Linked DNA regions of Homo sapiens: regions 1, 2 and 4 are each linked to region 3. Evidence: promoter capture Hi-C in 16 types of primary human blood cells and fetal thymus (Javierre and others, 2016). All regions are on one chromosome and are shown on one strand. Each heading gives the region's core, a stretch centred on a gene start or on the middle of the fragment in contact. The rest is flanking DNA. Distances are from core to core; before and after follow the strand shown.

Region 1 (5,383 bases), core at 909-3,408, 460 kb after region 3:
TGATTTGAGCACTTCTCAGCTATTTGAGTTTTTTCATCATTATTTTAAATGATGGAAATTAAACATTTTTACTTTATTTAAAAATTATTTTTCAATGCCAAGTTTCTCAGAAAGCCTAAAAGAGCAATAAAGATCGATATGAGGACTTGGTTTGAATATTGGCTCTGTAACTTACTAGCCATGTGACCTTTAGCTATCAATTTAATCTCTCTTGAAATCACATCCATTACTTGACAAGGAGGCAGGCAGCATATGACTCCCACCTGGTTGTACAATGGGGAACCTTTTTGGACACTGAACCACACTAAGGAATAGTAGATAACTGAATAGATGAGCTTTTGGAGAGGAGGTTAGCTTAATGCTGTTTCATGTCATTTGATATTGACATTAATAGGCTCCATAAAGCTTCTTCCCTTTTTATCCAGGATGTGAACCAGACATCTTTAAGATTGCAGCAGTTAATTTTATCCATTCAAGCTTCCCAATCAATGCTTTTACTTGGAAAATATTTATGCTTAGGATGCTGAAAAGCTTTCTCCGCAGTCAGGTCCCTAAGGCATTCTAATATCACTTTTTAGAGTTGAGTGCTGAGACCTTGGGCCCTTGAAGTGAGAAACAATAAATAATAATGACTACAGAACTTGGCAAATATAAAGCTCTAGGCAAAGTTGTAGAAAGAGTACTCAAGCGTGCAGAATAAACAAGATAATATATATAACTTTCTCAGTTTTTGATCCTAAAAATTAGAAGTAAAAACAGCAGCTGTAATTTTGAACGTTCAACAATCACATTGCAAGCATTTTGTATATCAACTGTCATTGCTTATTAGTGCACATTTCCTTTTCTTTTCAGTCTCTGTCTCTCTATTTCCATTTGCACTCTCCAACCTCATCCTGTAAAGCCCTGTTTACCCTCAGAATCAACTGCTGAGCTCTCTCTCTCAAGGTCCTCGCTGGTATCAATTTTCCATGTACCCCCAGAAGATTCAACTTTCCACATCACTAATTTCAACATGTCTGTCTTCTGCTTAAGTGTTTCCTAAGAGATGCAGAATAAAGTTTAACTTTGTAAAATTGGTACTCAAGGCTTCTTCTGTAATCTGTTTCCCTCATTTTGTCATAAGAGAAAGTAGAGTACGTGGTGTTTAGAGACCTGGGTTCAAGCTTCAACTATGATTAGCTTGTTTGGATTTCTTGATCTCTTTTAGCTTCAATTGTCTCATCCCTTTGTAAAATGAGATTTATAATAATGCCTATCTCTCAACGTTATTGTGAGGATCAAATGAATCCATGCTTGTGAAAGCACTCTAGACAGTAGGCACTGTAAAATACAATAATAGTAATAGCATTTATTGAATACTTGTATGAATCCAAACCTCACAGCAACCTAGAAGACTTATTACCATTTCCATTTTATAACAAATGAGGTACACTTGGGTTAAATAAGGCATCCTGGTTACACAGTCAGGCAGTGGCACAGCTAGAAGTCAAACCCAGGCGTGTGGCCCAGAGCCCATGCTCTCACCACTCTGTGGCACGGCCACTGGACGTGATGACTGCCCCTTCCTGACAAAGAGACATTCATTCAGGCTCCCATGCCAGTTAGTTCTCTGTTCTCAATCTTTTGGAGCATACACACTCATTAGATGGATCTATTAATAATTCCTCTGTTTTCCAGCATTCAACAAGATAGATGGTGCTCAATGATCATTTCTTGAATAAGTGAGTGTTATCTAATTCCGTATTCTTCAAACTTACCCATTTATAAGACTCACCCTGGGCACTTGTTAAAAATACACATTTCTTGCCCATTAAAGCCACAATGAGGTATCACCCCTCTCACCTCTCACAATGGCTACAATTAAGAAGACTGAAGATAACAAATGTTGACAAGGATGTGGAGAAAAGAAAATCCTTGTATACTGTTGGAGGGAATAGAAATTAGTACAGCGATTAGGGAAAACAGTATGGAGTTTCCTCAAAACGCTAAAAATAGAACCACCATGTAATCCAGGAATTCCTGGGTATATATTTAAAGGATATGAAATCAGTTTGTTGAGGAGATCTGCACTCCGATGTTCATTACAGCACTAGCCACAATAGCCAAGATTTAAAATCAACCTAAGTGTTTATCAAGGGATGAATGAATGAAGAAAATGTGGGATACATACACAATGGAATACCATTCAGCCTTAAAAAAGAAAGAAATCTTGTCATTTAAAACAACATAAACGGACATAAAGAACATAAGTGAAGGCTGGGCATGGTGGCTCAAGCCTGTACAGCACTTTGGCACGCCAAGGCGGGTGGATCACCAGATGTCAGGAGTTTGAGACCAGCCTGGCCAGCATGGTGAAACCCCATCTCTACTAAAAATACAAAGATTAGCCAGGGGTGGTGGCACATGCCTGTAATTCCAGATACTTGGGAGGCTGAGGCAGGAGAATCACTTGAACCTGGGAGGCAGAGGTTGCAGCGAGCAGAAATCGTGCCACTGCACTCCAGCCTGGGCAACGAGAGTGAAACTCTGTCTCAAAAAAAAGAAAAGAAAAGAAAAGAAAAGAAAAGTGAAATAAGCCAGGCACAGAAAGTCAAATGCTGCATGATCTCATTTTCATGGCAATCTAAAAAAGCTGAACTCAGAAGCTGAGAGCGGAATGGCAGTCACCAGATGCTAGGGGTTGGGGGCACCTGAGGGGATGTGGATCAAAAGGTACAGAACTTCAGGTAGAGAGGGGGACTAAGTTCAAGAAATCTATCGTACATCATGGTGACTATAGTTACTGACATATTTTGTCTACTTGAAAATTGCCAAGTGATTAGATTTTAAGTGTTCTCACCACAAAAAAAAAATGATAAATATGTGAGGAAATGCATATGTTAATTAGCTTGATTTAGCCATTCCACAATGTATACATATACCAAAATGCCATTCCATATGCAATAAATATATATAATTTATTTGTCATTTTTAGAAAAATAAAAGTATGCATTTCTGTGCTCTATGTGAGACCAGCTGTGAATCGGTAACTCTGGAGGTGGGTGGAATTAGATAAATCTAGTGTTTTATAAGTTCCTCAGGTGATTCTTTTAATCAGGTAAGGCTGGCAAGTACCAGTCTAATTCAATACATCTGAACCTCCCGGGAAGCTTTTCAAACCAGGCAAACCCATTTTTATCTCCATCTGCCTTCAGAGATTCTGAGTAAGTCTAGAATATGTATTGAAAAAACTTCTTAGGTGATTCTTATGCTTCCCTTTCCCATCCCTTCCTCAGTTAAAAACCCATTTCTACTTGTTTCACGTATAATATATACACTGTGGTCCACAACTTCACACTTCCACCCCAAAAGAGACTGAAATATGGATGCTTTGGGAGGCCAAGGCGGGCGGATCACGAGGTCAGGAGATCGAGACCATCCTGGCTAACACGGTGAAACCCTGTCTCTACTAAAAAATACAAAAAATTAGCCGGGCATGGTGGTGGAGCCTGTAGTCCCAGCTACTCGGGAGGCTGAGGCAGGAGAACGGCGTGAACCCGGGAGGCGGAGCTTGCAGTGAGCCAAGATGGCGCCACTGCACTCCAGCCTGGGCGACAGAGCGAGACTCCGTCGCAAAAAAAGAAAAAAGAAAAAGAAAAAGAAAATGAAATATGGATGGTAAGCTCTGTGTCTTATAATTTTGAATCCAACACATGCCAAGGACATAATGGCATAATGGTTGTTCAGTTGAATTAAAATTTCTGTTTTATTTCCTTATCCATCCCTGGGTTCAAGTTTAAACTATGATTAGCTTGTTTGGATTTCTTATTTACTCATTTTATAACTTAGTTACTCATTTTCTGCCTAACTACCTGGCCATGTGTCCAATATTTTGGTTTAATTCACTTGTGTCTTTTGCCACTTAGCTATCTCCCTGCCCTGGAATCCATAGTCAGTGCCTTCAAAACCCACCCTCATTGGAATCCTACATTATTTCGATTTGCACACCCTAATAATTCAGGCCATTCATTGACCCTCAATGCCAATAAGCCTCTGCGCTTGTCCTTCTTTTTTAAAAATATAATTTATTTGTTTTAATAAAAGTAGAGATGGAGTCTTGCTATGTTGCCCAGGCTGGCCTTGAACTCCTGGGCATAAGTGATCTTCCTGCCTTGGCCTCCTAAAGTGCTGGGATTACAGGCATGAGCTACTGCACCTGGCCATTGCCCTTCTTAATGATATATACCCAACAAGGTTTGTTCTGCTATAAATGAATCATGGATCACCCTATGATATGATCAAACACACGGAGTGCTCATGCAGAAAACATCTCCCCAACAGACCTGCCCAGGTGTCTAGAATTTCTAATACGATGCCTGTACATCTCTCCAGAACAATGCGAACATGACATGGGAGCATATTAACATCCTCATGAACACACTAGTTTATCCAGGCAGCTGAGAAGAAGGCCTAAGTGTAAAACATGGCTCTAGTCAGATGGCCTGTCTGGCACATAGGCAGAGACTCTAATAGGCACTACTCTGAGATACAAGCATTCATGACCCAAGAAGGACACAGAAAAGGGCAGAGATATTTGGTCAAGTTGAAAAAGGAAGACCCAAAACTTAGCTTGCCATGTAACACTTTCTGAGAATTAGAAATCTAACACTTTCTAGTCATTTGATTTATATAATTTCTAACTCCACAAACTCTCTTAATCTGATGATTTTAAGATGCCCATTCTTATTGCTGCTCATTTAGTTTTTTTCATCCTCTCATTCACTGTCTCAGACCCACTCTTATTTCTTTTCCTTGTCTCTAAAATCTTTTAAACATGCTCTTTTCCCTCAGGATTTTCCTGATTTTTACTTCTCCAACTCTCCTTGAATGTGAGATGTTGTTGGTAAAGAAAAAAAAAAAGACAGGGAAAAAAGATTTCAAGTTGGAATTCATTATTTGTCTGCTCTACTATTGTGTGTGTGTGTGTGTGCATGTGTGAGAAACTTTGAGACAGAGAGAAAAAGGAAACAGACAGAAAGGTTAATTGATTCTGTATTTTCCTTAAAGAGAATTAGAAGTTCACTGTGTTATGTAATTATATAATATAATTGGATTTATTTTTTTCTTTCACTTTTTTCTTTTCTTTTTGTCCCTCCCTTTTCCTTAAGTTGCTTTGAATTACAATAAAGGCTAAACAATCTGCCTTTGTATGCAATTTGTGCACAAGCTGCCAAGCTGGCTGCCAGGTTTAGTCCTGATGTGATCAAAAATGGTTGGGTTACAAAGCCACTGAAAAAACCGGTTTTCTACAGGAAATAGAAATTTATTAAAATCAGGCCTCCCCAAATGCCCTGGCTGTTAGGCTGGCAGCCTGCCAGGTCAGCAGGGCTGGAAGAGAAGGAGA
Region 2 (5,934 bases), core at 76-2,575, 320 kb before region 3:
TGGGCCTAGGTTGAGGGAGAGAGAGAAGTGACCCCCTTTGGCCAGTGCGCTGTTTTTTATTCCCCTCTGGGTCTTCTAATGGAATCTGCTGTCCCTCCGTAGCCCCCTTTATTTTCCCCTTAAGCTTAACCCAGAGCCAGGCCTAAGCAGCCTGTCTCTGGCTTTCTTTCCCCAGGCCCCACCCTGGCCCCTTTTGCTTTTCCAGCGCCAAAAAAAACGCCTCCCAAGCAGAAGACACACCCAGCCCAAGTCTAACCATTCCAAAAGGGAGGAAAACACAGAGGAAGAGCAGGGACCCAAGGGTCTCCTGTCCTGAATATTCCAACAGCGTTTCCCTCTAAAAGCCTCCTAGCTTTATAATCCCTTTATTCTGCTTACCAGTCGACCCTCCCCTCCTCTTTGCCCCTTGTTCTGTGATAGATATTTGGGGAGAGGGGTGGAGAAAGAGGTTGTCACCCTCTGTTCCTTACAGTGAGGCATTTTTCTTTTTCTCAGTCTTTTCATTTATTAGATGTTTAGCATGTAAAATATGTAAATCTGTTTGCAGGCTTATTTGAACTTGTTTTCTTGCTGGCTAAGGAATAGCTGATATTCTATAAAGGGAAGGAGGGGGGAAAAGATCAAAAGTAACACTCTGAGTTTTCCCCATTTGAGCATCCCCAGAGTTGCCAGAGAAGACCCTCCTATAAAAACCAACAGTCTCCCTTCCATGACATCACCACCTAAGCCCTTCCAACTTTAGCTTCAGAACAGGAAGAAGGCTCAAAATAGAACTACCTTAGGAATCCAGCTCCTTGAAAAGATCAACTTTTAAATCAGCTGCAGGAGGAACACAATGAACTTTGACATGGGGAGTGAGAAGGGAGAGAAGACTGTATAGTGTTCATAATTGGTTCCTTTGAGGGAGGGTTGGGGGATACTTACCGTGTATTTCAGAAAAGCTTTCCTCTAGAGTTGGGTACCTAGACCACTGAATGATAAATAGGATGGTTCAAGATTCATTTATTGAATTATTCATAAGTTTTTGTACGTCAACAATAACAAGCACGTTTCAGAATATGAATTAAAGAGGGGCCTCTCTGCAGAATCTGCTCTAGATAGAGAAGGTTGTTTCAGGAAGCTAGGAGGGCACTTGAAGACAGAGAACCTGAGGATGCAGTGACAGCTGCTGTGAGTATGTAAGTTGAGAGGCTCATAAACAATAATTGTGATAAACAATAATTGTAACTTTTGTAGGTGACTGATACCCTGGACAAAGAAGTAAGGATGTCAGGATTTTCCACCTCTACCTTGGAAATTAACTTCTTGTCTTTGAATCTCACTCAGTGTCTCCATTCAGTCCCTGAATTGAGATATGCTTTCCTCTCTGAGCTAAAATACTCAGTCTTTTGGAAGGGCTACCTAATAAACGATAATCACTGAAGTGTTGACAACTTAAAGATTGGAAGTGGAGCAGAAAATACTTGGTATAATTTGAGCACTTGGTGGGTGCTGTAAGATGACTTTCTGGTTGATGGGGTAACATCTTTTACTCTGGTTCGGGTTTAAAAGAATCCAGGTGACAGAGACAGGATACCTGCCCTAATATGGTAGCCACTAGCCACGTGGCTATTAACCACCTGAAATATGGCTAGGGTGAGGAAGAGCTCAATTTTAAATTTTATTTAATTTTAGACTTTGATAACTTGATTTAGTTATTGGAAAGCTTATTTATATTTGGAAACATACTTGAGCTTACGCATCTACTTTTGAAACTAAGTGTTTTGAAATCCAAACGCAAATTAAGTATTTTGATGAAAATTTAGAATTGGGATATGTAAGTGCAAAGTAATCTTCAGATTTCAAAGAATGCAAAAAAAGTAGAATAGCCCATTAATTTTATGTTGATTCCATGTTCAGATGATAATATTTTAGATATATTGGGTTAAATGAATATGCTATTAATTCCACCTGTTTATTAGTGTGGCTACTAGAGAATTAAAAATTACATGTGTAGCTTGCATTATATACTTCATTGGACAGCTCAGGCCTGCATTACTCCTTTTCATCTATGAATTAATTTCTTTTCTTTTTTTCTTTCTTTTTTTTTTTTTTTTTTTGAGATAGAGTCTCTCTCTGTCTTCCAGGCTGGAGTGCAGTGACGCGATCTTGGCTCACTGCAACCTCCACCTCCCAGGTTCAAGCGATCCTCTTGTCTCAGCCTCCAGAGTAGCTGGGACTACAGGTGTGTGCCACCACGCCCGGCAGATTTTTTGTATTTTTAGTAGAGATGGGGTTTCCCCACGTTGGCCAGGCTGGTCTTGAACTCCTAAGCTCGGGTGATCCATCCGCCTTGGCCTCCCAAACTGCTGGGATTACAGGCATGAGCCACTGTGCCTAGCCCCATGGATTAATTTCAAAAGTGGTGACTGTATGAAATATTGTTATTTCATGTTTGTGTTTCTATTTTCCACTGCTGTGTTCCATGTGATGATTGGGGACCCCAAGTATTACATTATTACTGTTATATTAGGGAGATTAGTGTAAAAGTCCAGGGTTCTAGAACGGCTAGCAGGGGTGTCATGGGAAAATTGGGATACCCACATACCCGGCTATTGCTGCTTTTGTAAAAGGATCCTGAACATAGCAAAAGGTACCGGAAAACAATGTGTGGCAAAGTAACAATTGTGACACCTGGTGGCATTTTAGTGATTCTACTCATCTGTCACTCACTTCCATTTATTTTTTCTTTGCTTCATCTACTTTCTGTCCCCCTCCCCACCAAATCACGGCTCCACTCGTGGCATTTGGGCCCACAAGGCTGCTGACTCCTTTCCTCCAAAAAAAGTACAATGCTAACGTGAATAGAGGTAGTGCTGTCTTTGGGTTTTGTTTTGTCTAATGAGATTCAGAAATTGCACTGGAAGGAACTTAGGAGCTATTCGGTGCTATCCCTTTATTTTATAGATGACAAACTGCCAAACACCTCACCTAAGACCATATAGACAGAGACTGGAATTAAACATACTCTTGTTGATAACTGTTTAGAGGCTCCCTGAGAAATGGAGAGGTTCATCAATTAATCAATCAATCAAGTATCTGTTGAGCTAGCATTTTGTGGAAATGACCACTAAGTGTTGTGAAGGGACATGAGTAAAACAGTTTCTGACTTTTTTAGAAAGAGTCCTGTTGACTTGAGGAAATAAGATATAAACAGCACCAAATTAAATTGCAGTATACAACACAGCACTTAATGAGTGCAGTGCCACTGTGGCATGTGTTACTAGTTAGTAGAAATGTGTTCATTTTACAGATGTAGGAATAGAAGCTTCGAGAAGGGTGGAACCTGCAGGGAAGTGGAGTGTAATTGTGTTCCTGGAACAGCCCAAGGCTGTAGAATTGGAGGTCATTGCAAGTCTTTGGTATTGGCTCCTTTAGCTGTCCATTAAGGGAATTTGAAAATCTGAGACCCAGCATTTTCAAATGGCAGTGCTGTAGTAATAAGGCAATCATAGATTAATTGGAGACCATCAGGGTTTTTAGAGATGTTTAGCCAGGGGTGGATCATTCCGAAGTTAGCTGGCATATAAAACTGACTTGTGAGCAAACCATAAAATCTAAAATCCGGGGGGTGAGAGTGGTGAAATGTGATGTAGAGCAAAATCAGAAAGTAAATTAACTGTGGAGTATACAGTTGGACTAAAAATATTTGTGCTGAGTACATGTTTGAAGGGGAGAGGCCCATATAATGTAATATATGGGCCAGTCATGTATTTATAAATTTTTAGTCTCCTGGAGCCTTTTTGGACTAAACTCTTGGTCAACATGAGGAAGAAAGCTCAGTCTTCTCTTTGTTACCGTGTCCATAGGGTTTTTTTTTCGTCCACATGGACCTTATAAAGTTACATAGCATGAGATTAATTAGGGCCAGTGCTCAAAGTCAGTAAAATGATGACACCTCTTCTCTAATCACTCTCAGTTAATGCTTCTCTTTGAGAATTGGGGCTAACTTTGTATAGGGCGGTGGTCCTTGACATTTTCTTGCCTTTCTGCCTATTTCTTTTTCCATAAAAGAGAAAAAAATTCTGTAACCTGCCACCTCATCAATCTTTGGCACAAATTAGTTTTTAAAAACTCAGTATAGCAAAGTTTTGCAATAAAATGCAAGTATACATTCTGTGTACTTGTGACAAAGCAGTATTGGACATTTGAGCAACTTTTGCTGACAGTTTATAACATCTCAGTGTGGTCAAATTTGGCCATTTTATATAGTATCACTGAATTAGATGATAATTTTCAAATTGGAAAACAAATCACACTAGTTAAAAGACCAGTGGATTTAAATACACTAAACTATAGTTTAAAAGTATTTTCAAATATTCTGCTTGGCCAACAACTTACGGTGCCTTCAGTTATTTAATATATAATCAGATATTCAAAGGTTTAAAACAATATTTTCATCTTAGTTTATAAATATGAGGGATGTAGCATGTTTTTTGTGCTTTTATTTGTACTCCACATTGATTGATCGCTTGAGAAAAGGTCTTTGTCACCCAGGCTGGAGTGTAGTGGTGCAGTCATGGCAGCCTCAGCCTTTCATGTTCAAGCAATCCTCCCACCTCAGCCTCCAAAGTAGCTGGGACTACTGGCCCTGCTCATACTATTTTTTGTAGAGACAGGCTTCCACTATGTTGCCCAGGCTGGTCTTGAACTCCTGGATTCCAGCAATCCTCCTGCCTCAGCCTCCTAAGGCGCTGAGATTACAGGTGTGAGCCACCATGCCTGGCCTTGTACTCCACGTTATTTTAAAAGTTCTTTGGTGTGCCAGTTTTCTATAAGTGCCTGGTTTTGTAGATAATATTTGGTATATGCGTTATGAAGAAATTGTTCCTAGTTGTATCATTTTTAACATAGAAGAAGTAGTTTAAAATCAGTTTGGGTCCTGGAAGAAAGCATTTTACATCACTGTTTTCTCTCTTCCTTAGTATGCAGTTATTTTTTCTTACTGTAGCATGAGTACCTGTAGTCACTTGTTTATAAATTTAGACAGTTCAGTTCTTAGACGAAACATGTTGAAGAAGAAATATTTCTGATGGATTTAAATTTTCAAAAATGCACGTTTATAAACATTTTCAAGAAAAAGCAAGACACATTTTTGAAACATTTATTTTAAAAATACCATTTTGAAAACCCATATTTTTCTTCCTTGAAACTGCTTTAGAATCTGAGAGAATATTAATTTAAGTAACCATTCACAGAATAATGACAATTTGCTGCTTGTTATTAGGGATGCTTGGCTTCTTTTTTTTTCTAATTTAGGTAAAAAAATGAAATGAGAGAAAAATAAGGAGAAAAAGGAAGTATCTTTTACTTTACCAAAAATGTTTAGTTGTTGCATGGGTTTTGGTGATGGCTAGTAGAGTGAATTTCAACTTTGCAGTACACTTCCTTCGTCTTTATACTTCATATTTAGACATTGAATCACACTAATATTTTGGTGAAGAACAGTCTAATAACTACAAATATGTCAGGATTATTTATTTGTCTCCATACTTACCCAACCTTCAGTGTTTCAGGGTAAGTATTCAGTTTTCCAAAGCTGACAGAATTGTGGTCAAGAAATATTAGTTGATAATCTTATCCTTTTTCGTGGAACAGCTATCTAAAATTTTACTCTAAAATAATCACAGTATCTTTGTTCACGTAGCAGATGTTTATAATTCGGGTAAAAATGTGCAACTATTTCCAAGAACCTTAGGTTATGGGATCCAACTGTGATTTTTTTTTTTTCTTTAATCTTCGTTGCCCTCTCGTGTTTCAACTCTGTATTACAGTTGGCTAAGACCTAGATGATGACCTCCTTAATTTTTAGATATTTTTGCATTTTAGGCAATGTTGTTTTTAATTTGTGTGTAGGTGGATTGTTTCATTGGATGTTGCTTTTCTGAAGATAAG
Region 3 (5,654 bases), core at 2,763-5,262:
AGGAGGATTGCTTGAGTCCAGGAGGTCAAGACCAGCCTAGGCAACATAGAGATACGATGTCTCTACAAAAAATTAAAAAAAAAAAAATTAGCCTGGCATGGTGGCTTATGCCTGTAGTCCCAGCTACTTTAGAGGGTGAGAGAATCGCTTCAGCCTGGAAGGTCAAGGCTGCAGTGAGCAGTGATCGTTCCACCGCACTCCAGTCCAGGTGACAGAGCAAGTCCCTGTCTCAAAACAATAAATAAAAACTAAAAAGGAATGAGACTGGAAACGTAGGCAGGGGCCAACACACAAAAAGCCTAAGAATCTTAGACTGCTGTCCTATCATTTCATGCTTTTCAAACTCATATCTGTGTACTCCATGGTAATACAGAAATACAGAGAATCAAAAGTCAAATATAGTACATTTTCCATAAGTGTCAAGTTTATGAAAAAAAATTGGGAGTTAAATGCTATTTTTGTGTTAAATCCAATGTTACTAATAGAATATAAAATTAATATAAAATTCTCAGACAGAACACAAAACTTCAAAGCAATTTCAGTCTTGCAACAGTCTAATTCAGATTCACTGTTCTTTACTGTTAAGGACAATTTGAGGAAAAGTTTGAGAGGACGTGCAGCCAAAGGCTGGTTTTTTATGAGCAGGAGAGTGACATGATCAGATTTGTGCTTCAGGAGTATCCCTCAAGGGAAGTAGCATGCAGAAGGAGCTAAAATGTAAGAAACAGGACAGTAATGAAGGTAGGTGACAAACCGAAAAGTTGTTAACAGTGAACAAGAGACGAAAAGGACTTGAACCAGAGCTGAGGCTGTGAAAACAAAGAGGGCCAGGAAGATTCCAGAAAGCTTAGGCAGACCAGACAGGGCTTGACTGAATGCACAGTAATTATTCAGTGAGAAAGCTTTTGAGAACTTAATATAAAGGTGTTCACTTTTTTTTAGAGCCGGTACTTCTATAAGGTATTTGATAAACATACCTCTAAAAGCTTCCAGTTAAAAATACTTTCAGTATGCCTTTTAATTATAGGAACTATAAAGTTGTGGGATGCTATTATAAATCTGCTATACCAAAAATAAAACAAAATTTGAGATTTATGAAAACTACATTTAATAAAGAAAACACTCATATATTTCAAATGTTAAGAAAAAATTATTGGGTTTCTACTAGTAAGTTATTGATCAGTATTTTCTAGAGACATAAATACACAGTTTGAGAACTAGAGTTATGAATGTCTTTGATCCTTAAAGTGATATTCTAAAATAAAGAAATGAGGCCAGGCACAGTGGCTCACACCTGTAATCTCAGCACTTTGGGAGGCCGAGGCGTGTGGGATCACCTGAGGTCAGGAGTTCAAGACCGGCCTGGTCAACATGGCAAAACCACATCTCTACTAAAAAATACAAAAATTAGCCAGGCATGGTGGCAGGCTTATGTAATCCCAGCTACTTGGGAGGCTGAGGCAGGGAGAATCACTTGGACCTGGGAGGCAGAGGTTGCAGTGAGCTGAGGTCGCGCCACTGCACTCCAGCCTGGATGACAGAGCGAGACTCTGTCTCAGAAAAAAAAAAAAAGAAAGAAAGAAATGAATGAATAAACACAGTCTCTTCTGGAAAAGAACAAGAACTTAGTATTTCAAAAATATCTGATTACTTAATAATTGAACAAAAGCCATATTAACCATTTCATAAGGGTAAATATGTAGTTTTAGCACAGGTGATTTTATGTAGGCCTTACTAGCAAAAAGACACAAAATAAAATAAAGTGAAACTTTCATCAGTAAGTTGACAGTAAAATATAGTCACTAAGAAAAAGCAGACATTATAATTAAGGGAAATTGTTAAAACAAAAAATACAAAAAAATTCATGCAGAACATATGAAAATATTAGTTTAAGTAGATGAAATCTCAAAAATACAAATCCCAGTGTAATTCTGAGAAAGCTTCTATCACTAATTAAAACTGCTCCTTTTATTAGACCCTTTGATATATTTTTCATGTCTATTGCGAAGGGAAATGAGAAAGATACCAACAGCAAAGCAAGAATAGACAGAACGTCTTCAATTTGGGGTCTAAATATATTTAGAATTAATGCAAGGAATTGTGATAACAAAAACAGCTGACATTCTACAAAGACATTGAGATACTTCTCTATTTCTCTCCTCCTAGACTGTCTATACAAAGAGCTGCTATTTTTTAAATTTGTTTTTTTAAAAAATGCCATCTGCTTCTTCCAAGCCTCCTCCTTCCTGAGCTCCCTTACAGTCCTCTATTTGTATGGGCAGGGGAGGCTGCTTCCAAGAAATCAGTCCATTGCAGGTGTCCTTAACAGGTAGTATCACAAAACATTACCTGACAGATGGGAAGTGGACCATGGCGGAATGGAAAGAGTTGAAAGACAGATGAGATAAACAATACTGACAGACACTGCATTTTGAAACAAAATAGCCCCCCATGCCTACGGGTTATAAGGTTATATGTTCATATTTATTGTGAATGGCTATGTAAGGTCTCATTACATAGTAATGGGGCATTGGTCTCATTATTTTATAAGTCACATGGAAGAACTGCCATGCAATTGTCAATAGCCAGCCCTCTTGCAATTTCATGCATCCGGTTACAGGAGGAACTACAAATCCGCAACTACCAGGACAGCCCACCACACTCGGAGCAGTATATAAATTCAGGTTATATGTGAAACATGTGTGAACATCCAGACAGCTAAGAAATCCTGAAGAATCAAAGAAATGATTTCAAGCTTTTGATAAAACAAAAATATATATGCATAGGAAAAGAGAAAAGAACAACATCCCAGGATAACAATGGTTATCTTCAGGTATCAGAAATATGGGTAATTTCTGTGTCCCCTTTGTGCTTCTCTGTCTTTCCTAGCTCTCCTACAATGAGCATGCAGCTTTTGAAATCAGGGGAAAAAAAAAGTTAAATAGATGCAGAGTTTCTAATCTTAAAAGCAACAGTTAATCTGGATTAAATACACAGAGTAGCTATCTTTAAACCTCATCCAAGTCACTGAGAACAAACCCTCCAGTACTGTACTTGGCGTAGCAGGAGGCGGCTGCAAGGCTCCAAGGAGCGCAGCAATAACTCTATTCTGGGGCCTTAGCAAACTGAGAAGACAGAGTTGTTTCATAGAAACTTGGGCAAGTGCTTCTGCAACAACAGCGAAACTCACTCCCAGCTCTCTCGTGCCCCTGCCCCCTATGGCACTCCCGAGCACCGGGGACTATACGTTGGAGCCCTCGCCCCTGCCAAGGTGCTCCCGAAGCTTCGGCCCCCTCTACCCCCGCTCCCCCCCGCAAAATGTGTGCTCCACAACTCACCTCCACTCTCCTTCACCTCCTACTCCTCTACGGCCGTAGGGGAAGGAAAGACCGGGCCGAACTTGGAGGCAGCAGCCCCTGATTCCCGTGACCTTGGAGAAGCCGCTTCGCCACTCAGAGCCTCAGTTTCCCAATCTGCCCCCCTCCCTGGCAGGGCGTCTGCAGGCTAGAAACCCCAAGAACTCAGTCAAACCGAGGGGCCGCTCTCACCACTCGGCGCCGACCCACTCCCCAGGACCGCTCTGAGGCGCCCCCGATCCCAGCCTGGACACGGAGCGCCGCCCCGCCGCCCCTCGGGACGCGTCGCCCCTATCACCGTCCCAGTACCTGGCAGTTGCTGTCCTGGGGCAGGTTTTTCACCAGGATTTTCCTGCGGTTGCTCAGCTCCCGCTGCATCCGCTGCAGTCGCGCGGCGACCTCCTCAGGGTGCAGCGCGGCGGGCATCGGGTCCGGGGCGCCCTCGTGCGCTTCGGCTGAGGGGCCCTGCCCGCGCAGCCCCGGCCCCGGCCCCAGCCCCGCCGCGCTGCCCAGGCCCGCGCCCCCCTCGCCGCCGCCGTCTCCCGCCGCCGCCGCCATCTTCCCGGGCGCCCAGCGGCTGCGGACTCCTCGGAGGCTCCAGGGGAAGCGGAGAGAGAAAGCGGGAGGAGGCCCGGGCGAGGGCGAGGCGGGCAGAGGCCGCAGAGTGGGCCCAACCGCGGGGAAGGGGGGCGGTGGGAGGAGGGAGTAGAGAGAGGCGGCGCCGCAGCCAGCAGCCTGCTGGCGGGGAGAGGAAACCTGAGGCGCCGAGGAGGAGCCCGAGAACCACCTCGCGGGAACCTCCCCCGCCGGCCCCCGGCCCCGGCGCACAGGCGCGCCCGCGCCCGCCTCTCGCGGGTCCGCAGGCGGGGCCGGGCGCCGCCACCCGGACACCTGTGAGGGCGCGGACGCGCAGGCGGGCTCCCCCTCTCTGCGAGGCCTTCGCGAACGCCCAGGGTCGTTCTCTGGGGGATGCGGCCCCTTCGCGGTGGCTTCGCCGGGAGACTCAGCCCCAGGCGCCTGTCCCCGGCTGGCCCCCCATGTGACGCCGCAGCTCTCCCCCGGCTCCCCTCGAAACTCCCGCGCTGGGGCGGCCCGGGGGCTGCGGGCGCGAACTCGGTCTTCCCACACCCGAGATGGGGCTGGAGGGGTGGCAGGAGGGCGCCTCCTGCAGCCCGGCTGGCTCCCGATGGTAACCCTTCTGTTGGTTCAAGAAGAGCATATTTGGCAAAGTTTGAGTTTACAATGAGATTTTCTGGGGAGTAAAAAGAGGGACATTGTGGGAGAAATGTTATGTATTTGGTAAAACCTGATCGTAATGTATTTTGCTAGCTGTGTATGAGAAAGCCTGTGCCCTTCACCTGTCCCTCTGTCCCTGTCATGCAGTTCCTAAAATGTAAAACCTGGGTAGTTGGGTCTGCAACATGGAAAGTGATGCTGAAACAAAGACTAGAATGGAAAAGGAGCTGTGGCAGAGGGGCTGGAGAATACGCTGCTTGGAACATTATTTTAATTGAAACTTGGAGGGAGAGTTACAGTGTAGAACTATACTTAGTCAAACGGATGTCATCAGATCAAACAATCCAGCAGCCTTTGGCACTAGCCCAGGTGACCATCAGCGAAGGGGACCATGCATCTTAATTGTGTAGCATGCAAGTACACTAGCAAAAAAAAAAAAAAAAAAAAAAAAAAGACTTTAACACTAATTAAAAGAAAAACAAAATGTTTTAAAGATTTTTTAAAAATACTACAAATTCAGTCCTTACCATGTGCTCCCCCCAACCACGCATTTCTAAATGCTTTACATATACATATTTATTTACTCTTCATGATCATTCAATTACGTAGGTTTTGTTTTCCTCACTTTACACGTGAGGAAATGGGATCTGTTCTGATTGATTCCAAAGCCCAGTGTTCTGAATAACATAAAATAATTCACCCGTAATCCGTCCACCCAAAAATAATGGCTGCTAATACTTGTATCATTAAAATGATATTCGGCAATACACCCTTCTATACCACCACTATTCCTGGTAACCAAAGGATAGAAACAACCCAAATGTCCATTTATTGATGAACAGATAGGCAAAGCGTGGGATATATATATGCTAAGAAATATTTTTAGCCATAAAAAGGAATTAAGGACCCCTACAAGGTGGACGAACCTCCAAAGCATTAAATGAAAGAAGCCAGAGACAAAAGGTCATATATTGTATGATTCCATGCGTATAAAATATCAGAATAGGTAGATTCATAGAGCGGAACACAGATTGGTGTTTACCAAGGGCTGGAGGAGAAGGT
Region 4 (6,241 bases), core at 1,483-3,982, 480 kb after region 3:
AAAGAGAAGTGTTCCTGCATTTGTAGGATAATGCCAAAGACCATCTGAATGAATGTGAGCAACCTTTTATACACTTTCTAAACTTCATGTTTTGTAAGTAACTTTATTTGTCAAAAATCATTCTTTCCATTTTGCTCAATCTTTTGATGCTTTGTTAGTTCATTCATTTAGCATATATATTTACTGGGTCTCTGCTAAGGGCCAGTTGATGTGCAAGGGAAAAGCTGCTTTGGGAGCACAGGGAGGGAATCACTGTGTCTAAGTGAAAACTGAGTCGGACTTTGAAACAGGAAGACCAGTTTGTTAGACAGAGAAGGGAGGTCAGAACATGTTAGATAGAAGAAACAGCACACATCGTATAAGCACAAAGGTATGAGAGGACTTGACAGGGTTAGGGGTGATCAGAATGGATTCTCCCGCGCTTCCACTGTGCCAGGTGCGGTGCTAACCCGTCGACAGCTATAATATTATTTAACTCAGACACAACCCTTGTGATGGGCAGGTATTATTATTCTTATTTTACAGATGAGGAAACTGAGGCTGAGCAACCTATAGTAACTTGATCAAAGATATCCAGCTAATAACAAGACTCGTCCCAGATCTGTCTATCCAAAAACACAATGTTATAGTATACAGAAAGTTTCGTGGAGCTGGAAGGGAGGCTGAAGCCAGATCAGGAAAGCCTCATATGTCATGCAAAGGACTTTCATCTTTATCTTATAGGCCTTGTAAACAGGGAAATAAACTGATTATACTTTTCAAAAGGAGAATATAGATATAATGTCTATATTTCTAGATGTATATTTCTACACAGCATGGGGACCTTGCTTTCTGGGGATGAACTCTAGCTGGTACTATTTATGTTCTGTTAACTCTAAAATCTCACTGCATTCTCTTCCCTTTTTCCTAGTTGTCACCGGATTCACTGCTGATTATGGGTTCCAGGACAAATTTTGTTTGCCTCATATGTTTATTTCCCTCACACATGAAATAAACCCTGTAATATTTGCTGTCTTCTAATGTTATAGACATGGGCTACAAGTGACTTGTTTTCCTTCTGTCTTTGGTTTATAGAAAGATACACAGACAGACCGGGCATGGTGGCTTACACCTGTAATCCCAGCATTTTGGGAAGCCAAGGCAGGTGGATCCCTTGAGGTCACGGGTTCGAGACCAGCCTGCCCAACATGGTGAAACCCTGTCTCTACTAAAATACAAAAATTAGCCGGGTGTGGTGGCAGGAGCCTGTAATCTCAGCTGCTCTGGAGGCTGAGGCAGGAGACTCACTTGAACCCGGAAGGCAGAGGTTGCAGTGAGCTGAGATTGACCCACTGCACTCCAGCCTGGGTGACAGAGTGAGACTCCCTCTCAAAACAAAACAAAGAGAGAAAGATACACAGAGAGATGTGAGTTTACACAGTCACCATTATCCTATGGTTATCCTGAGGCCCACAGTGATTTTTAATTTTTTGTACTTTCGGTACTAATATTTAGTTGTAATTAATTTAAAACTAAATTCTGTCTGTGCCTTGAGAAAAGCATCTATTTATTTTCCATGAACATATTATTGATGGACTAACTCCAGTTCTTTCTAACCATGCTTGGGCCTTTCTGACTCCACATGCTTTTGATTACAAGAAATATAAAGCCAAGTCAACCCAGTTTAAACAATAGGAGAGTGTTTTATCTCACATAAGAGAAAAGCCAGAGTGGAGAGCAAGACTGAATGTTTTCAGTGACTCCACAATGTCACGAAGGACACAGCTCTTCTTACTGCTTGCTTTGCTAACTGAGGTGTTGTCTTCATCTTCAGGTGCATAGCAAGAGAGCTACGGCCATTCTAGTAACCACACCGGACACAGCAACATCCAGGGGAAAAAGCGATCTTCTCACCAAGATCTCATTTTTAAGAGTGGACGGCAAAACCATCCCCTGAAGTGCCCAGCATATTTCCCCTCAAGCAGGATCCTGTCACATGCCATTTCTTTTATTTTAATTTAATTTAATTTTTTTTTTGAGGCAGGGTTTCACTCCCATTGTCCAGGCTGGAGTGCGGTGGCGTGCTTTCAGCTCACTGCAACCTCTGCCTCCTGGGATCAAGTGATTCTCTCACCTCAGCCTCCCAAGTAACTGGGACTATAGGCATTCACCACCATGCCCAGCTAATTTTTTTTTTAGTAGGGATGGGGTTTTACCATGTTGGCCAGGCTGGTCTCAAACTCCTGACCTCAGGTGATCCACCCACCTTGGCCTCCCAAAGTGTTGGGATTACAGGCGTGAGCCACTGCGCCCCGCCCCATTTCTAAACTAGTTACTGGGAAGGGAAATGGGATCACCATGATTGGCTGACGTGAGTTGCTGGCGTGGAATGAAAGTTGGGAATCAACCACCTTGACTATTTGCCTTCTTAGTTCCTGCCCTGTTAAAAACTCCCAGGAAGCATAAAAAGAAACCTGGCTAGATCAGCAGACTATAATGCAAAATAAATATAGAAATGTTTCTTTAGAACATAAAAAACAATATTATTTTGAATTTCTCTCCTCCAGGAAATCTTAAGCATTATAAATCTCTCTGAGACACCTTGGATTTGGTGGTTGGAATCAGTAATAAAGGTGGGGATTTTGTTACTATGTTAACAAAATAAGTTATGGAAGCACAAATTCTAACTGCCTTATATTTTCCATGCCTTTCTTGGGTTGGATCATGGAAACTCTGCCTCTGATAATTTATTTTTAATCTGAAAATAGTTTAGCTAATAAAGATATTAAAATCTGTGCTGACTGATGGGCTTTGATGATTGCCAAATGGTTTATTTCTATTCAGTCCTGTTTTCAGCCTGGGTTCAGTTAGGAAAACAGAGCCACTACAAGTAATACAAGAGTGAGAGTCTAACACAGGAATGTGGGATTATCCAGCTGTGGGAGGACCCAGGGGAGTGAAGATCTGGAAGCTACAGCTGGAGAATTGAAAAAAGAGTCGTGACCCACTTTAGTCTGATGCACTGACACGAGTGGGAAACCAGGAGCTCATAGAGTACAAGAGGCTGCACACATTTAGCCACCCAAAGTGGGACAAAAACAATGAGTTCATGGGGATATTTGTGCAGCCACCATGTCTGTGAAGTGAGGCTGTGGAGAGATGTGTGAAAATGCCATATCTGAGGAACCCGCCATGCCTGATATGAACAACTTCCCAAGCATAATGTCCTCAACTTCCCTCCCACCTGCCAAATCTCTGGTGAGTTTCTCCCACTGGCAAACTATGACATGCCATCCTTCTCTGCAAAAGAGGGACACACAATTCTTTCCTTTTCTGAGTCATACTTCCCTTTGATATCCTATATAAGTTCATTCTCGCTACATAATAACTCTCTTGCTACATAATAAACAACCACAAAATCTTAGTGACATACAGCAATAAGTATTTGTTTTGGTCACATGTCAGCAGGTCAATAGGTGGTTGGCTTCTTTGGCTGGGGAATGGCTGGGAAACGTGGGTGGGCAAGCTCAGATCTATGCCTTGAATCTTTCTCTGTGATCAGAGGGCCAGTCCAGGCACGCTCTGGTGATGATGGCAGAAGAGAAAAAGAGCAAGCCAAATCATGCAAACCCTTTCCAAACCCTGGGGGCACACTGCACCCACTAATATTCCACTGATGAAAACAGGTCACAGGGAAAAGCTCAAAGTCAAGGCACAAGGAAACATGTTTTGTTCATGTAGGTGGAGCAGGAATTAATATTTCTGAACAATAATCAAATTTACCACAACCTCTCAGGTATAGTTTCTTCCAGAGTAGACAGAAAGGAGTCTATTCCATGATTAAAGAGGACAAGGCTCAGCACTGGAGCGCTAACCAGTTTCTGGACATTAAACTTAAAATGTTGTCTCTTCCAACTTGCCTTTTCCCCACTTATCATGGGTTTTCACCTTTTTTTCCCCCAAATCACAAGGCAGATAAAAACATGACAATTTTACTTCATCCTACTATTTACTTACTCATTGATAGCTACTGTATGCCAACCACTGTGCTGTGGAAGACTGGGAGGTGAGCAGTCCCTTCCCTCAAGAATCTCACTCTTTTTCAAAGGAGACAGGCAGTAAAGAGAGTAATAACACAGCATGTGTGCCGGACAGACTCCAAGATGGCCCCTAGAATCCCTGCATCCTGGTATTTACACCTGAGTGTAAACTCCTCCTTTCTGAGTGTGGATAGGACCCATGACTTCTAACCAATAAAATAGGATGCAAGTGATAAGGTCTCACTCACATGATTATGTTACATCACATATGACTCCATCTTGCTATCAGACTTGCTCTAAAGACTCTTGCTGGATAAAGTAGGAGGCCAGGCTGGGAGAGCCCATATGGCAAGGAACTGTGTGCAGCCCTCAGCAGCTGAGGGAGGCCTCCCACATATACCCAGCCAGAAGCCAGGGCCCTCATTCCTAAAGACAGAAGAAAATGGATTCTGTCGACAACCTCACTGGGCTGGGAAGCAGATTCCTCCCCCATTCAAACCACTAGGATGAGAATGCAGCCCAGCCAAAGCCTTGATTGCAGCTTTCTGAGACCTTAAGCAGAGGATTCAGCTAAGCTGTGCCTGTACTCCAGGCCCACAGAAACAGTAAAATAATAAATGTGTGTTGTTTTAAACCATTCAATGTGTGCTAATTTGTGACACAGCAATAGAAAACAAATAGAGCATGATACGGCTATGGTAGAAGTGCTATGATAACCCACAAAGAAAGTTTCCTAAAAAAGGTAATACCCGAACTGAATCTCAAAGGATGCATAGGCATTAGAAAGTAAAGAAGGGGAGAGAAGAGCATTTAGAGTAGGGGTATGAGAAAACACAGTGTACTGCTCAAATTTTTTTATGAAATGAGGTAGGGAACAAACAATCATGACCCACTAGCTTAGTGTAGCATTTAGGTTGTGAAGGGGAGAGGGAGGGAATGTCACTGCAAAGACAGAGACAAGTATTAGAGCATTAAGGATTTTCTGTGTCAAAGAGTCTAAATTTTATCCTGAAGGAAAATGGGAAACAAAGTATTTTAGACCTGGTAAAAACATAAGCAGAGCTGAGCTATAGAGACATAGCTTTGTCACCAGTCTGACAAAGCATAGACAAAAATTACTGTAATCACATCAACTTAACCAACTGATCTCTTCCACTGGTGAACATGGTGGGGATGTTGAAAGACAGAGATTGCAGAGGGGAGTAGGGAAATCATGGAGAAAGCAAAGAGCAAGGCTGGAGAAGGCAACATTTCCTACCTCACAGGTACCCTGAAATCTGGAAGAAGGGAGAGTTGAATGGAGAAGGCTGAGGCTGATAATACAGAGGAGGAAATCTGCGTGGCACACCAAACAATTAGGAGGGAGAGAGGTGGATACTGAGCAGGGAAAAGAAACTTGGAGATACGGGGGCAGGGCCCTTGGAGAATCACTGAATGAAGGTGATTGCCTGTGCCTGGCATTTATATGCTGTTATGTTTAGTGGCCAGGTGACAGGAAAAAACAGTAACTATTTTTTTTTGTACTTTTCAGTTCACAAAGAAATTGTCTATACATGGAGTCACTTAGTCATAAGAATCCTGTGAGTAAGGGCAGATTTTTAGCAACTAGGATTTGTTGAACATCTTCCACATACACAGTACTAGCTAAGGATGAAAAAAACTAAGTTCAGAGGTTGAGTGACCTTTCCATAGTAGCACAGAACTGGAATCTGAACCTAAGTTCTCTATCCCCAAATGTCATGCTTTCCCCTCTATACCAGCTGACTTCCATGGTAAGTTACCAGCTCTCCCGGCTGAAGACTCACTCTCAACCTATCCCAACAAGTAAATGGTAATTTTTAAAAGAGCACGAAAAACAACTCAGCATTGTTTCTTTCTTTTCAACCATATTGCATATACCTTTGAATATACAATGAGTTTTAGGGATCAGTTTATTAGTGCTCTGTGTGTTTTGGCTGCTTTTTCATATTTTGAAACTTAGCCTTAAAATTTCAAATTGTATATCAACCTATTAAAGGGTAGTAAGCTTGAAAATATAAGTAACTCAATTCTGTCAAAGTTCCAATTCCTATGTGACTAATTTACCAAATTAATTTGGAAAGTCAGAAAAAGTTAAAGCAACCTTAAAAGGAGAACACAAGGATTAGCCCTCATATATTCCAACTTACTTAAATGGAAAAAAGTTTAAAGTTATGCATATTATGCATAATATGTTATTTATA

The links. The method cuts DNA at HindIII sites, captures the fragments that hold promoters and counts their contacts. A CHiCAGO score of 5 or more calls a contact.
Region 1: a contact is called between a fragment that was not itself captured here and the fragment with the promoter of RAVER2 in region 3, in 3 of 17 cell types (neutrophils, M1 macrophages and M2 macrophages). The highest score is 7.1, in neutrophils.
Region 2: a contact is called between a fragment that was not itself captured here and the fragment with the promoter of RAVER2 in region 3, in 1 of 17 cell types (fetal thymus). The highest score is 5.1, in fetal thymus.
Region 4: a contact is called between a fragment that was not itself captured here and the fragment with the promoter of RAVER2 in region 3, in 5 of 17 cell types (megakaryocytes, M0 macrophages, M2 macrophages and 2 more). The highest score is 6.9, in megakaryocytes.

What each region holds. Positions count from the first base shown.
Region 1 is chr1:64,282,494-64,287,876 of GRCh38, reverse strand. No RefSeq gene overlaps it. Among named protein-coding and RNA genes, the nearest start is that of UBE2U, 82 kb to the right of the region's middle. The HindIII fragment of the contact is 1,986 bases long and covers 1,166-3,151 here.
Region 2 is chr1:65,059,970-65,065,903 of GRCh38, reverse strand. It overlaps a transcript of JAK1 not described here. Among named protein-coding and RNA genes, the nearest start is that of MIR101-1, 4.4 kb to the right of the region's middle. The HindIII fragment of the contact is 764 bases long and covers 944-1,707 here.
Region 3 is chr1:64,743,433-64,749,086 of GRCh38, reverse strand. It overlaps RAVER2 (ribonucleoprotein, PTB binding 2), which reads right to left and starts at 4,012. Exons shown (of 12, transcript NM_001366165.2): 1 at 3,666-4,012. The coding sequence starts at 3,914. RefSeq lists silencers at 4,039-4,238, 4,259-4,358. The HindIII fragment of the contact is 6,103 bases long and covers 3,286-5,654 here.
Region 4 is chr1:64,260,726-64,266,966 of GRCh38, reverse strand. The region is part of intron 9 of UBE2U (ubiquitin conjugating enzyme E2 U); the gene reads right to left. Among named protein-coding and RNA genes, the nearest start is that of UBE2U, 60 kb to the right of the region's middle. RefSeq lists an enhancer at 3,137-4,336. The HindIII fragment of the contact is 6,631 bases long and covers 1-6,047 here.